2 separate regions of the Homo sapiens genome follow, and region 1 is linked to region 2. The links are contacts of gene promoters, found by promoter capture Hi-C in blood cells and fetal thymus (Javierre and others, 2016). All regions are on one chromosome and are shown on one strand. Each heading gives the region's core, a stretch centred on a gene start or on the middle of the fragment in contact. The rest is flanking DNA. Distances are from core to core; before and after follow the strand shown. Region 1 has its middle 13 kb from the start of MSC-AS1. Region 2 holds the start of SLCO5A1 (solute carrier organic anion transporter family member 5A1).

Region 1 (7,360 bases), core at 2,215-4,714, 2.0 Mb before region 2:
TTTCACATCAGCCATTTATTCAAGAAACATTTTTTGATCATCTGCTATTACCCAGGACAGTGCTGGATAGACCAGAATGAATCAGAGAGTTGCCTCTTCTCAAAGAGCTCTAAAGGAGGAAAAGGACAAATGGCCCAACAATTGAAGTGCAGTGTGCCAAGGGCTATGACAGAAGGTGGCGCTGTGAGAGGAAAGGCACAAACCCCAGCCCCAGGCTGTCATGGGGGTCTTCCCAGAGAGCCGACAAGGGAGGTGACTATTGGAGGAGGCTAGGCAAGGCAGCAGGAGGGCATACCAGAAGAATATAAATGACAGCAGGCTGCCATCACTAACCAGTGATGGGGATTATCATCTAGGATGGTGGTTAAGAACATGGACTCTTACAAGGGACTTCAAATCCCTGAGCCTCAGTGTTCTCATTTGTAGAATGATGATATAATAGAAGCTACCTGATGGCTTTGTTGGGAAGATTAAATGCAATATTGGAAGTGAAATACTTAGCACAGTGCCTGGCACATAGTAAGTGCTTAGCAAATGCTAGTCTATTAGTATTGTTGTCACCATTATCATCGCACTGAGATGATCTCCATGTTCTCTTGACAAACTTTAAGCAGGTGCTGAGGGGCCTATCCCTGACCATTCAGAGTCACTCATTTTCCCTTAAAGCTGAAAGATATGAGCCTTTAACTGATTCTGTTTCAGTTCTCCTCTGAAAAGGTTGGCCTCTTCAGAATTTTGAAAATCTCAAGGTATTGATTTGCATGAGAAGCAACACTTCTGGCTCATGCTGGGGGTGAGGGAATAGAGAGTAAAGTACATTTGCATGGTCAGGAGAGCTGGATAGAAAAGTGTGTAGATTGATGGTATGGCCACTATAACATATCAGGGTTAAAGCAACACCAACAATAGGCACTGACTCAGATGGACTCTCAGGATGCTCCTCTGCTTTTCAGGTCTCCTGGGGTGGATCCCAGAAGCTCTGCTCAGTCACTTCAGGGAATTATCCCCTGGTTGCTAGACTAACAACAGCCTGTGACAAAGGGAGGGAAATTTAAGACCCTATGACCAGAACTGTTTACTAGCAGGTCCAGGATTAGAATTCACAGACTCTGAGTTTCCCCTTGGCATCCAGCCCACCCAATCTGAAGGACACCAGCAGATAAGAATTTGGCACCATGACAGCTATTTCTCTGCAGCTGTTTTCCATGCACACTGGCCAAGTGCCCCGGAGCCCGCGTGGGGTTGCAAGTGGGGCGTTCTCAGAGCCTGACTTGTTGGGTGGCCTTGGGCAGTCTCTCCCTCTTCCAACTATGATTTCTCACCTAAAATGAGGGGTCTGGGCTGGATGGGGCCTTAACTGCACCATAGTTTTAAATGAATGCCCTGCTTACTGTGGGTCTTCAGAATAGCACTGATTATGTCTCCCTTTATTGCTAGTACATCACAATACGGGGAGGCTGAAAGCTTGAGAAAATGAACAAAGTCAACCTACACTTAAATGTTTTATGAGTTTGGTGCAAAAGTTACTGAGGTTTTTGCCATTACTTTCAATGGCAAAAACCTCAATTACTTTTGCACCAACCTAACAGATGAAACTCAAGCCATTCAGGTGTCTTTTGACTTGTTCTGCAGAAGATCTGTAATATCTCTACGTGATTTCACTGTTGATGATAAACTTTGCCACAGACTCTTCATTTCTGTGATAAGTATTTAATCTTACAAAGGTAGAAAACAACTTCTCCACATTATATGGAAACCAAATAAGCACAGAAATGATGGTACTTAAAACTGTTCTAGTCTCAAAACAAACTTTCATTAGTGTTTAAAAACCTGGCCAGGCACGGTGGCTCAAGCCTGTAATCCCAGCACTTTGGGAGGCCGAGGTGGGTGGATCATGAGGTCAGGAGATCGAAACCATCCTGGCTAACACGGTGAAACTCCGTCTCTACTAAAAATACACAAAAATTAGCCAGGCATGGTGGCGGGCACCTGTAGTCCCAGCTACTCGGGAGACTGAGGCAGGAGAACGGCGTGAACCCAGGAGGCGGAGCTTGCAGTGAGACGAGATCGTGCCACTGCACTCCAGCCTGGGCGACAGAAAGAGACTGTCTGAAAAAAAAACCCAAACACAAGATCTGTTCAGACCTTTTAAAAAGATTCTATGATTGAGTTTGGTTTGCTCCAGAGTAAAAATTATAGTGGAAAAACATCAGATCCAAATAAAAGAATCTTCAGGAAAAAGTATAATATATAAACAACTACTGGTTTTCTTCAAACTCCTGACAACCTAGGAGATGCTGAAATTTGACCTATCGTTTCAAGAATCTAGTGAGTTTTCCCTTTTTAGGTTAGGACATCTCCCTGTGACAATTTTCACCTTTCTCCAAGACTTCTCAAAATATACTGTTGTTGTTTCTATACTCGGACCTTTAAACCTGTCCCATATCCCGATATGTGATTCACCTGAGCACAGACTCATAGAAAGCTACTTTGTCTGGCAATGTGCAGAATAGATTGAACAGAGCACAAGTTGGACAGTCCAGGCAAAAGAAACTGAGGCCTAGGCTGAGACGATGGTGGTGGGAATACCAGGGATAGAGCCAAGAGACTTTTGACTGCTAGAATCAAATTAACTGGGTTATAGACTGGATGTGTGTGATGAAAGCCAGGGTAAAAGCCACAATGACTACAAGGTTTCTAATTCGGGCCAGACAGTGAATAGCAAAGTCATCATGAGTCATGATTTATCACTAAAATTTAAAAGGGCAAGTTTGAAACAGTACAGAATTGAGAAACTTTGCCATTCATTTGGGAACTCTACCATCCATTGGCCCATACAGATTCTTATCAAATTTGGTCTTACTCTGGGGACTTAGATTCTTTCAGAGGGGGTAAAATCATAACTGAAAGCTTAAAGAGAGAAGGGGTTTGTGCAGCTCAGAGACACAAAGCTTGGAAACAGGGCCCTTGCCTTGATCGCATGTGAGCATGCCTTTTTTCTTTCATTGGATTCTAAATATCTTCAGAGCAGGAATCATCATTTTTCATTTTGTGTCTTATGAAATTACAACCTCCATCTGTCTGGTACAAAGCAGATGATCAATAAATATTTAATAAATTTCTCTTGATAGAAAATAGTTATTGCTACTCTTTAGTTTAAATTCCTTCTCACTTGTAAAACGAGGGTGATTTGATTTGGGAAAGTCCATACCCTGGAACCACCCGAGATATGTAGTCATCACAGACAACTAAGAAAGTATGTCTAATTAGTCACTACCATTTGACACTACTATTTCTGCTGTACATAATCTGATGGTGCTAGGGAGCCCTCAGACAGAAAAAGAAGAGTATTGACTGAGTTCAGTAAAGTACTTTAAAATGTAAAGCTTTAAAATTGGAAGAGGCAAATTCATACTGTAAACACGCTAAGCACCATGCTATACGCTTTACAGATATCAGCCCTTTAATGCCTCTGATCAGGCCCATGAATAGGCCTGTGATAGTCTTGATTTATGGGTGGGAAAACAGGCTCTCAAAGCTTCAATAACCTTCCAAGGGCCACACAGGGAATAACTGGTGGAATCAGAGTTTAAATCTATTTCTCTCTAGCTAAGAATCTGAACCCAAAACCATTCCCTGAGCCTCCCCAAAAGTTGTCTGCTGGGGTGAAAGGAAGCTGGTGGGAAGATGGTGCCCACCGATGAGACTAACTGAACTTTAGGAGTTAACTCGGAACAACGGATGAGCCATAGAGCTATACCTCCTTCCGAGGGCTTGACACGGGACGAAAGCGCAGAAAGGAGTCAAGGCTGTCTGCTTCCTTGGCGGTGCCCACCAATGCAACCCAGGGAGTGGCACTTGTCTATAAACATATTTGTTTCTTTTTGGGTTTGCTTTCCTCTTTATTTTATAATGAAGATGATTTGAAAAACACCCAATTTATATGTGCTGAACTAAAAAGAAAATAGATCTATTCTCACTTAGGATTTTTAGCTCACAAAATTACATACTCCTGGAGAGCCCAGCAGTGGAGGCAGGGAGTGGCCAATCTGAAGATGAACAAAGAACTGCTCCTGGGAGAAACTGAGGTAGGGGAGCCAAGAAATGCCATGACCGAGGAGAAGCCCCAGTCTGCCTAGAAGAGCTGATCATTTTTGTTTGACCTTAATAGATACTTGCTTAAGTGAGTTATAGGAACAAACAATTTCCCACCAACAACAAGTGATCCACTTTTTTCCATCTTCACCAAAGACAGAAAAAGAGAAAACATGTGTGAATTGAAACATATAAGAAGTACAGTAGATTTAATGAAATTGCCAGAGAGAGGTTTTCTAACCGTCTAGGATTTGTGATGTAGAATTTGCGCAGTTAGGGAAGAATCTGTGGTACAGATTTCGTAGAATCATAAAGCCACAAAACTTTAGAGCTAGAAGGTATCTCATAAGTAATCTACTTTGGTTTATCATGGCATTCTAAAGATAATAAAAAACAAAGACTATATGGTTACTGTAATTACCTAACCGGGACTGTTGTGCAACAATGTAAAATTATGGCCCCAAATTATGCAATACCTAGGAAAATTTTATGAAATAAACAGGATAAGAAACTATAATTATAGCAATGACAATAAAAATCAAAATAATCTAATCATTTTAAAGATAAGGAAAATGAAACTGGATTTTTGGAAACTGGCTTCTCATCTGTCTTGGATTAGAGAAAGATGCTGCTTGAAAGTTTGGCTTTTTAAAAAAAAATCCCCTTGTCATTTAAGGTCATTTCTGGTCTGTCTTTTACTGGCTGACTTCTCTTTGTCTTCCTCCCCTAAACCCTTCCCACTCCCTCTGCCTTAACCTGCAGAATTAATTCTACCTCATCTATATTTGTGCAATACTTTACACACATCTTCATTTTTAAAGAAAAGTTATTAAAAGTACTATATGCCCCAAAATGCAAGAATGGTGTGGCATAAGAAAATCAGTCAATGTAATACACATTATAGAATGAAGGGGAAAACTCACACAATCATCTTCATCGACATAGAAAAGCATTTAACAAAATCCCACACTCTTTCACGATAAAAAACAAAACAAAACAAAACAGAAAACCAGGAGAAGGCAACTTCCCCAGCACCATAAGACGCCTTTATGCTAACATCAAACCCAATATGAAAGACTGAAAGCTTTCCCCCATAAGGTCAGGAACAAGACAAGGATGCCTGTTTTCACCATGACTATTCAACACTGCACTGGAAGTTCTCACCATAAAAAGGAAGGAAACACTGACACGTGCTACAACATGGATGAACCTTGAAAATATTATGCTAAGTGAAAGCAGGTAGACACACAAGGTCACACATTGTATGATTCCATTTATATAAAATATTCAGAATAGATCAATCCTTTGGGACAAAAACAGATTAGTTGTTGCCAGTTCAAGGAGGGAACATAGAAACTGTTTAATAGCTAAGGGGTTTTAGTTTGGAATGGTGACAATATTTTGAAACTTATAGAAATGGTGATTTCGTGACATTGGGAATATGCTAAATGCCAGTAAATTGTCTACTTTAAAATGGCAATTTTTTTTTAGCATTCCACAGTGTGATCCTTTACTACAGCAAGGTGGCTGATTATCAAAAACTGAGAAAAGCAAGAGTGAATACGTTAAAAAGGTTTGTTGCAGATACAAGAAGGTAAGCGGAGGCAAAGATAACTCAGTGCTAGAGGTCTGGATGTGGCTCCTCAAGGAGCTCCCTGCAGCCCGGCTCCTCCAGGATGGCGCTCTGCACACAACCCGGGCAGCATCTGCTTCCCCGGGAAAAGTTACCCATTGACATCAGCTGTGTTTAAGAGCTAATTTTTATGTTAGGTGAATTTCATGATGTAACCAAGTTCAAAAAAATGAGTCCTTTGAAACCCAAATTCAAGGGCGGTAAATATATGTCAATGGGTATTTCCCCACTATATTAAGTACTTACACGCTCATTGTTTCTGCTGTTTGGGGACCTCTCTGCAGCTCCAGCACTTTCCACAGGATTCAATAGGAAAAATAATTGAGCGCCACGCAGCCGGTCCCAGTAATAAAAAGACGTCATTAGCGCGCCATCTCGTGGTAAATATATAAGTTGCAGCAAACCCTCAGGCTGCAGATTTTTTTTTTTTTTTTTTTTTTTTTTTTTTTTTTTTTTTTGTTAAGACAGGGTTAAGCCTATGTTGCCCAGGCTGGAGTACAGTGGCACTATTATGGCTCACTGCATCCTTGACTTCCTGGGCTCCAGCGATCCTCCCACCTCAGCCTCCTGAGTAGCTGGGACAACAGGCATGAGCCACCACGCTAGTTGTTTATTTTTATTTTTTGTAGAGACAAGCTTCTCACTATATTGCTCAGGCTGGTCTCAAACTCCTGGACTCAAGTGATTTGCCTTCCTCGGCCTCCCAAAGTGCTGGGATTGCAGGCGTGAGGCACGGCACCCGACTAGGGAGCAGAGATGAACCCTGAGGTTACTTTCTGTCCTTTCCTCAAGCCAGAGTGGTTTAGGTCACTGGTCATGAATACAAGGATCGGGGTTGTACGCCTTCTCAAAGACCTCATGTTCCTTAACATCAAAATGCTCTGACTTATTCCAGATTCCTTAGGAAACAGCCTGAAGGAAAGCCATGAGTGCAGACTCCCTATGGAACCTGGTCACAGCTTCAGGACATCCTTGGGGAGGTGTCAGCAATCCCCCTGTACCAATGGTGATGGTGTGTAGGGGGGGTCCAGGGAACCTTTTCCCCTACAACCTTCAAGAAAGCAGCTGGTGGCAGGAGTCTTTCTAGAGCAAATACTGTGCAAGAGGGAATCCAAGAGGGCCGATAAGCTGGATTTCTGCACATGTGTCACTGTGTCAGGGGCATCCCCTGCACGGCCACCACTTCTGCCTGTGGGCCATCTGTGGCTTCTCAGGTCCCTTGTAGTAACTGCAACAGCGCTACTGTCATCACAGCTCTTCCAGAAGACAGCTCTGGGTGGTTCCCCACTACTGTATTTGTGAGATCCAAAGGTGTAGCTCTCTGTTGCCTTGTGGATCCGTTATATTTGCAGGCAGTGTTATAGTTCTGAGGGGATTTTGGAAGTGGTGGTTACTTCAACGAAGAGCTTGAGATGAGCATCTCATCTGAGCTTCACAAGTCCTCTGCGAGATAAATAAGGAAGATTATTATAATTCTCTCCATTTCATGCAAGTGTTAAACCCAGGCCTTGTCTTTGTTTAAGGATAGATATAGGCCAGGCACAGTGGCTCACGCTTGTAATCCCAGCACTTTGGGAGGCCGAGGCAGGTGGATCACGAGGTCAGGAGTTCGAGGCCAGCCTGGCCAATATG
Region 2 (6,517 bases), core at 3,096-5,595:
ATGAGAGCAGAGGACAATGCAGTTTGAGTTTCTCTGCATTCAGAAGTGGTTAGGGCTTTGCATTCTAGGTGCACCCAAGAGAAACATGTAGAGATGCTCACAGCCCATGGAGGACTGCCTCTTCTAACCTGCTTCCTTCCCCTTCCCATCCGACCACTTTCTTTTCCAGGCCAAGGTGGCAGTGGTGGTAATTATGAAACATCTTTCAAGGGAACATGATTTTTTTTTTAAGACAACTGTCTCCTCTTCACAGGGAAGTTTCCCTCCATTACTAGCCTTGGAGTATCTGGCTTTATTATTATTATTATTATTGTTGAGATGGAGTTTCACTCTTGTTACCCAGGCTGGAGTGCAATGGTGCGATCTCGGCTCACTGCAACCTCCGCCTCCCCAGTTCAAGTGATTCTCTTGCCTCAGCCTCCCAAGTAGCTGGGGTTACAGGCATGTGCCACCACACCCAGCTAATTTTGTATTTTTAGTAGAGATGGGGTTTTTCCATGTTGGTCAGGCTGGCCTTGAACTCCCGACCGCAGGTGATCCACCCACCTCGGCCTCCCAAAGTGTTGGGATTACAGGCATGAGCCACTGCACCTGGCCTGGCTTAATTATTTTTTGTTGTTGTTGGTTTTTGTTTGTTTGTTTATTTTTTGAGACAGGGTCTTGCTCTGTTGCCCAGGCTGGAGTGCAGTCGCGCAATCACAGCCTACTGCAGCCTCTACCTCCTGGGCTTAAGTGATCCTTTTGCCTCAGCCTCCTGAGTTGCTGAGACCACAGGCATATGCCACCATGCCTGGCTATTTAAAAAAAATTTTTTTTTAGTGGAAATGTGTTCTCAAGGGATCCTCCCATCTCAGCCTCTTAAAGTGCTGGGGTTACAGGTGTGAGCCACAGTACCCAGCTAATCTGGCTTAATTATATTAAGGGAGGTGGCAGTTTCTTTATAGGGAGCCAAGCCTCCAGGTGTTCATGGAACTGTGGTTTCTTGGGGGTGTGGGACTTGCAGTGCTAAGTCTCTTTGGACACAGTTGGTCACTATACTCCTTTAGCACTTGCAGGGCCCTCAAGCCACCAGGGCTGGAGTGATTGCCTGCATTCATTGTACCCCAGGGCCAGATCTGTTCCTTCTCAGGTTTTACCCAACCTGAAATTCACTTCTAAGGAAGGATATACATGCCAAGTTCTATTAAGGGGCTACCTTAAAGATACAATGTGTCTCCTCTTAAACAACCAACACCTAATTCAATTATGTTACTGGCAACTATGTATTATGTTTTGCACCCACAAAATATTCTGAACCAAAAACTCAGTTCTTGTTGTATCTGGGAGACCTCTGAAGTGAACCTTCTTTAAGAAGGAAGGGAAGGGCTGTGGGAAAAGGCTCCCTTCAGCTTTCTTCTGCCCATTCTCCAGGACGGCCAGATTTTAAACCTGTAGACTGCCCTGGAAATTGCAAAGGCTACATACTTGTTATATGAAGATCAGGAAAGAAATCATTTATTTATTTATTTATTTATTTATTTTTAAAAAGAAGTCATTTATGTATAAAGTCGATGGACTTAGAAGAAGCAAACGTAAGTCTGAAAGTTTGAAGAGGGTTTACAGTCATATGCTTCCTCTCCCAAAATGCCAAACAAGGCAGGCATTCTGGTTAAAGTAACTGTAATTATTGAGTGAAATAAGGATAGTAAACACTACCATAGGGGTAGTAGAACCCCGTGATATGAGTCCATTTCTTTGTATTAATCAGACAATTACGGCTAATGAGGTGTGCTCTTCTTTTTCAAAGTCATATTTAACTGGGAAAGATAAAGCAAAAGAAATGCTTCTTGCTGAATGTTTTCTTCTTGTTTCCTATGTGAGTAAAATTGGACCTTTTAAAATTTTGTCTTTTTTAAAGTCATATTTAACTGGGAAAGATAAAGCAAAAGAAATGCTTCTTGCTGAATGTTTTCTTCTTCTTTTGTGAGTAAAATTGGACCTTTTAAAATTTTGTCTTTTTTAAAGTCATATTTAACTGGGAAAGATAAAGCAAAAGAAATGCTTCTTGCTGAATGTTTTCTTCTTCTTATGTGAGTAAAATTGGACCTTTTAAAATTTTGCTGTAAATCATGATCTATTAGTGGCAATAAAAAAATCCATAGGTTCTTAGAGTTGCATCTACTTTACGGTAACTGAGCATGAATAAAGACAGAGTGTTTCAGGGACACGATTGCTTGATTTTCAAGTAGGGAAGTCCTGTGATGTCCCCTGATGTATCACATTGAATTCACTGATGTCTGGAGCTGAGACTGAAATGAGAGAATGGGACACAGAGCTTGGAAGGAGGTAATAGGAGGTAGGTTGATTCTGTGTGGATTTAGAATCAGCTCAGAAGAGTATTTGGGTTCAGGAAGTGCCACGTATCTTTGCTCACTTTATCAGCAGTAGAGGACTAAAATCTGGGCAGGGTGGCAGCGGGAGTCCTATTGCCTGTTTGTAGAAAAGTGACTGTGCCTGATGGCGATCTCAAGAGGAGGAGACAATGGCAGGGAATGAAGAAATGCCTCGGTTGATAGGTCAGTCTTGCAGCTGCCAGAAGATTGATGCTCTCTCAGCATGGACTTCAAATACACACTGATTGTTCTTTACTGTCAACTGGCCTTAATTGTTCTCTAAGGATCGCTGTAGATACGACGGTTGTTGGACTAAAGGGAGATAATCAAAAGAATCAAGGTGCATTGACGAGTCAGGATGTTATTCAATGGCAGGAGAGAGGGTAGAGAGTCAGGGTTAAGAGGTTAAGTAAGAACATAGTCTTTTGGAGCACATTGGTTCATATTGTCTACAGAGCAGCTGTGTGCCTATATAAAGTTACTTAACCTCTCTACACTTATCACATCTGTAAAATGGAGACAATGCTTTCATTGGGCAAGGCCAAGGGCCAGTGGAGGGGCTTCGACCTGGCAGCAATGGCCAGCATGGTCACTGGTACTTGTGAGCAACCTCCTTTCCTCCATTAGAGCACTATCCTGCTCTGTCAATGGTCACAAGTGCCCTCAGATACTCTTTTTTTTTTTTTTTTTCAGTTATCATCCTGTTTGTCTTCCCTGCAGCCTGTACACATCTGACCCTTCCCTTCTTACAGTCGTCTGCTCTTTTGGCTTTTCTGATGCGTCCCACACCTCTCTGACCCTTGCTTCCAGTCTCCTTCCTTTGGCTGTACGCTGTCCTCCTAGATTCTTCACAATTTGGATGATCTTCCCTATTCATTCCATCCTTTCTCATGCCACCTTTGGGCTGATGACTACTGATCAATATTCCTAGTCCAAACCTCCTGTGTGTCCAGTGGCTTATGGGACACGTACACTGGGATGTCCCCCAAACATTTCAAACTCAACACATGTAGATGAGAACAATCTTTCTCCTAAAGCATGTTTCTCCACCTGTGCTTTTATTGGCTGTCAGGCACGTAGTCACCCAACTTGGTGCTAGAAACTTGGGAGTCATCCTACCTCGGCTGGTTTTCTTCTCTTGCAGATTGCATCAGCTGCCCAGTTCCCTCCTCTCCATGCCCCCTGCCAATGCCTCATCACATTTTGCTTTCAGACTGCCTCCCAACTCACTTCTGTGCCCGCAGTGTGGCCTCACATCTGTCTACCTGTCACTGCCAGAGCCAGCTCTCTGGTGAGGAAGTCAGAACGTCATTGCCCCCACATTATTGACAGTACACAACTTAGGAAACCCGTAGTGCCCCTTTCTACTCAGCCACTCTTGCAGTCTGGTCCTCTGCCCCATCCCTGCAATCTTCTAGGAAGCTTATCTACCTATTGACTGGCAGCACCATGCCCCCGTGCCTCTGTTCTTCCTGCTGCGTGGAAATGAAGGCTAATGGATATTGGCTACTCCAGTAGCAGGCTGCATAGATGTACCACGTTGTTTTAAGCCATTTACATGAGTATTTCCCCCACAAGCCAGAGGTTTCCTCCGACCAAGTATCTTGTCTTGTTTATCTTTGGTCCCAGAATCTACTATGGTGAATGAGACATGGTGTGTGCCCAAGGCACGGAATAAACGATCAGAAATGATTTATTTATTCAGAGTGGGCTGTCAGCTTCAGCCGCTGACTTTTCTAGAGACCGGCTCCCTCGGGGCTTCAGCGCTCTTGGGCCCCCGCAGCCACGCAGGTGAAGGGCAGCGGGGTGGCTGGCTGTGGGAGGGCTGGGCTGGGTGGCTGCCCTCGCGCCTGCGCCCTCGGCTGCTCCTCTCCGGGCGCGTCTCTGTGCGCGTGTGTCTGTTTGGAGCGGAGGAGAGGCTTGGGTGACAGGCGAGGGGTGGGGGGAAGAGTTCAGCCTGAGTCACAGTCTCATTCACTGATTTCTCTTCGGCTGGACGGAGGCTGCCTCCTCACGCGGCTCCCAACTATTCCCGTAGCTCAGTGCCCCCCTCCCGCCGCTCTACTCAGCCAGGCAGACAGACTGACAGACTCGCTAGTGAGTAGCGGCGGCTTGAGCGCCCGGGCAGCGCGGCGGGCTGTCGCCGGCGGTCTTGTCTTCCCACGGGCTCTGTGTGTGTGTGTGTGTGTGTGTGTGTGTGTGTGTGTGTGTGTGTAGGATGTGCGTGTATGTGATGTGCGCGCAGGGGGTGTCCCTGGGATTCCACGCCTGCTCCAAGAGCTCCCTGCCGGGATCCGCGTGTCCATCCGAGTCTGCGATGCTGTGAGGGCGCTCGCCTAAGCAGGGGGTTCGGACGCCCCCCGCGAGCGGCGAGAGTTTGCTGGGATTCCCCGGCTCCTCACGCAGCGGCTGGTGGGGTTCCCCGGGAAGGCGCCTGGGTAAGGCAGCGGCGGGGAAGCCCGGGATTGTGAGTGGCTGGCAGGCCGGGAATCTGGGAGCGGGTTTGGCCCAGCACAGCCGAGGGAGATGCCGGAGCGGCCACCCTTGGCCGCCCAGCCTCTCTGCCTTTCTCCCTTGCCCTTCCTCCTTTCTTTTCTCAGCAGCATCACAAAGGCGCGCTGCAAAATGAAACCCAGTGTAGTGAAGCTCGGCTGTCTCCCACCTGGTGCATATTCCGCCCCCCGTCCTTGCCCCAGGCTGGAGGAGTGGAGTGGGGGTCCCCAAGATTAGGGGCGGGGTCTTACCACGGGGGCACACCTGTTTTCGATTCTTGCTGAATTCAAGCTGGGTGCGGGATCGCGAGAGAGGTTCCAGTACGCCGGTGTGTGTGTGTGTGTGTGTGTGTGTGTGTGTGTGTGTGTGTGGCCGCGCACGCGCACACGCTCCCCAGGCCCACGCTAGCGGGGTGCGCTCAGTCAATAGCACACCTCCCCGCCGGCCCGCGTGCGCCCAGCCGGCTCCGTGGGCTCCTCGCGCGCTCTCTGACAGCGTGCCGGGATCTCTTTGTTTGGTTGTGGCTTCCCTAGCTCTCGGCAAAGCAGACGGATTTTCGGTTTCGTTTGATACCGCGCTCTGGGACTTAGTGCGGGCCACAGCCTCGAATGCCCCTGGTATTTGTAATTGAAGAGTTCTTTCGGTCAGGGGGTTATTTTTGGTGTTGGGAATAAAGAGGCAAGCATGTTGACCTTTTTGCTGCTGCCTTCGGCTTTGAATGTGTGTCTCTGGTGGAGCAGACAGATTCAAATCTAGTCGCGCACACGTGCCAACGCACACCAGTGTGCACACACATTTCTACACACGTAGTTTACCCCCACCTTCTTTTTTCCTTTTAGAAAAATTGGGACAGGGAATACATTGTGTGTCTGTGAAAAAGTTTCCTTTGTTCTTTTGGGCATTTTCTATTTTGAGTAATGGAGTAGGAGTACGGAAAGGCTGCAGTTAGTTCACTCGATTAAAAGACACTGCCTCTGAGTCAGAGCTGCCAGGTTGATAATTATTAACATATAAAAGCAAACGCAATGTTTAAGGCAGAAGGGGCGGGACGGGGGCAGGTCCGCGGCAGACAATGAGGGAGAGTCTCCGCCGACCGCCTGCTGCTTATTGTTCCGGGACTGGAGACTGCAGCCGGCTGCTGCCTAGTCCTCCGGGGCTCCGCTCCTGACTAGCTCCTCCGTCCCTCTAGGGACGGTTCGGGGTCACCTAACCCTGGTCCCCGGGGCGCTGGGACGCTAGCCCCAAGCCGCAGCCGCTCTTCGCTGACCGCCCTCTTTCTGCTTTGCAGGTCGGCAGCTTCACTCCCGAGGGTGCCGCGAGCCCAGGCGGCGAACACCCGGTACCCCTGGCGCAGCGAGGTGGGATGCTGTACGGACAGCAGCGCTAAGTGCCCCCCCACCCCCGGCGCAGGGTGCACTCGCTCCTGGCCGCGGGCCCAGCGGCGGCGGCGGCGGCGGCGGCGGAGGGGATGAGCCCGGGACGCGCGAGGCGCCTGCCTCAAGCTACCGCCCGGAGAGGGACGCCGAGTAGGGCTCATCGCAGTACCGCGCGGACCCCTGCCCCCTGTGGCACGCGGCTGCGGAGCCTTGAAGCCGTGTCTGTGATCAGGATGCACTGGGCGCCTCGCAGCTGGTGAGGATGCCCTGCTGCGC

What was found. Contacts are between HindIII fragments. The CHiCAGO score rates a contact against its expected background, and 5 or more counts as called.
Region 1: a fragment that was not itself captured here is called in contact with the fragment with the promoter of SLCO5A1 in region 2 in 1 of 17 cell types (activated CD4 T cells); the score reaches 8.8 in activated CD4 T cells.

The regions. Positions count from the first base shown.
Region 1 is chr8:71,826,830-71,834,189 of GRCh38, reverse strand. No RefSeq gene overlaps it. Among named protein-coding and RNA genes, the nearest start is that of MSC-AS1, 13 kb to the left of the region's middle. RefSeq lists enhancers at 969-1,018, 2,694-2,873, 2,450-3,649, 6,824-6,883. The HindIII fragment of the contact is 152 bases long and covers 3,389-3,540 here.
Region 2 is chr8:69,832,806-69,839,322 of GRCh38, reverse strand. It overlaps SLCO5A1 (solute carrier organic anion transporter family member 5A1), which reads left to right and starts at 4,345. Exons shown (of 10, transcript NM_030958.3): 1 at 4,345-4,469; 2 at 6,154-6,517. SLCO5A1-AS1 (SLCO5A1 antisense RNA 1) reads right to left here and starts at 5,211. Exons shown (of 4, transcript NR_186568.1): 1 at 5,130-5,211. RefSeq lists silencers at 4,080-4,189, 6,280-6,369 and enhancers at 4,510-4,589, 6,020-6,089. The HindIII fragment of the contact is 8,160 bases long and covers 3,797-6,517 here.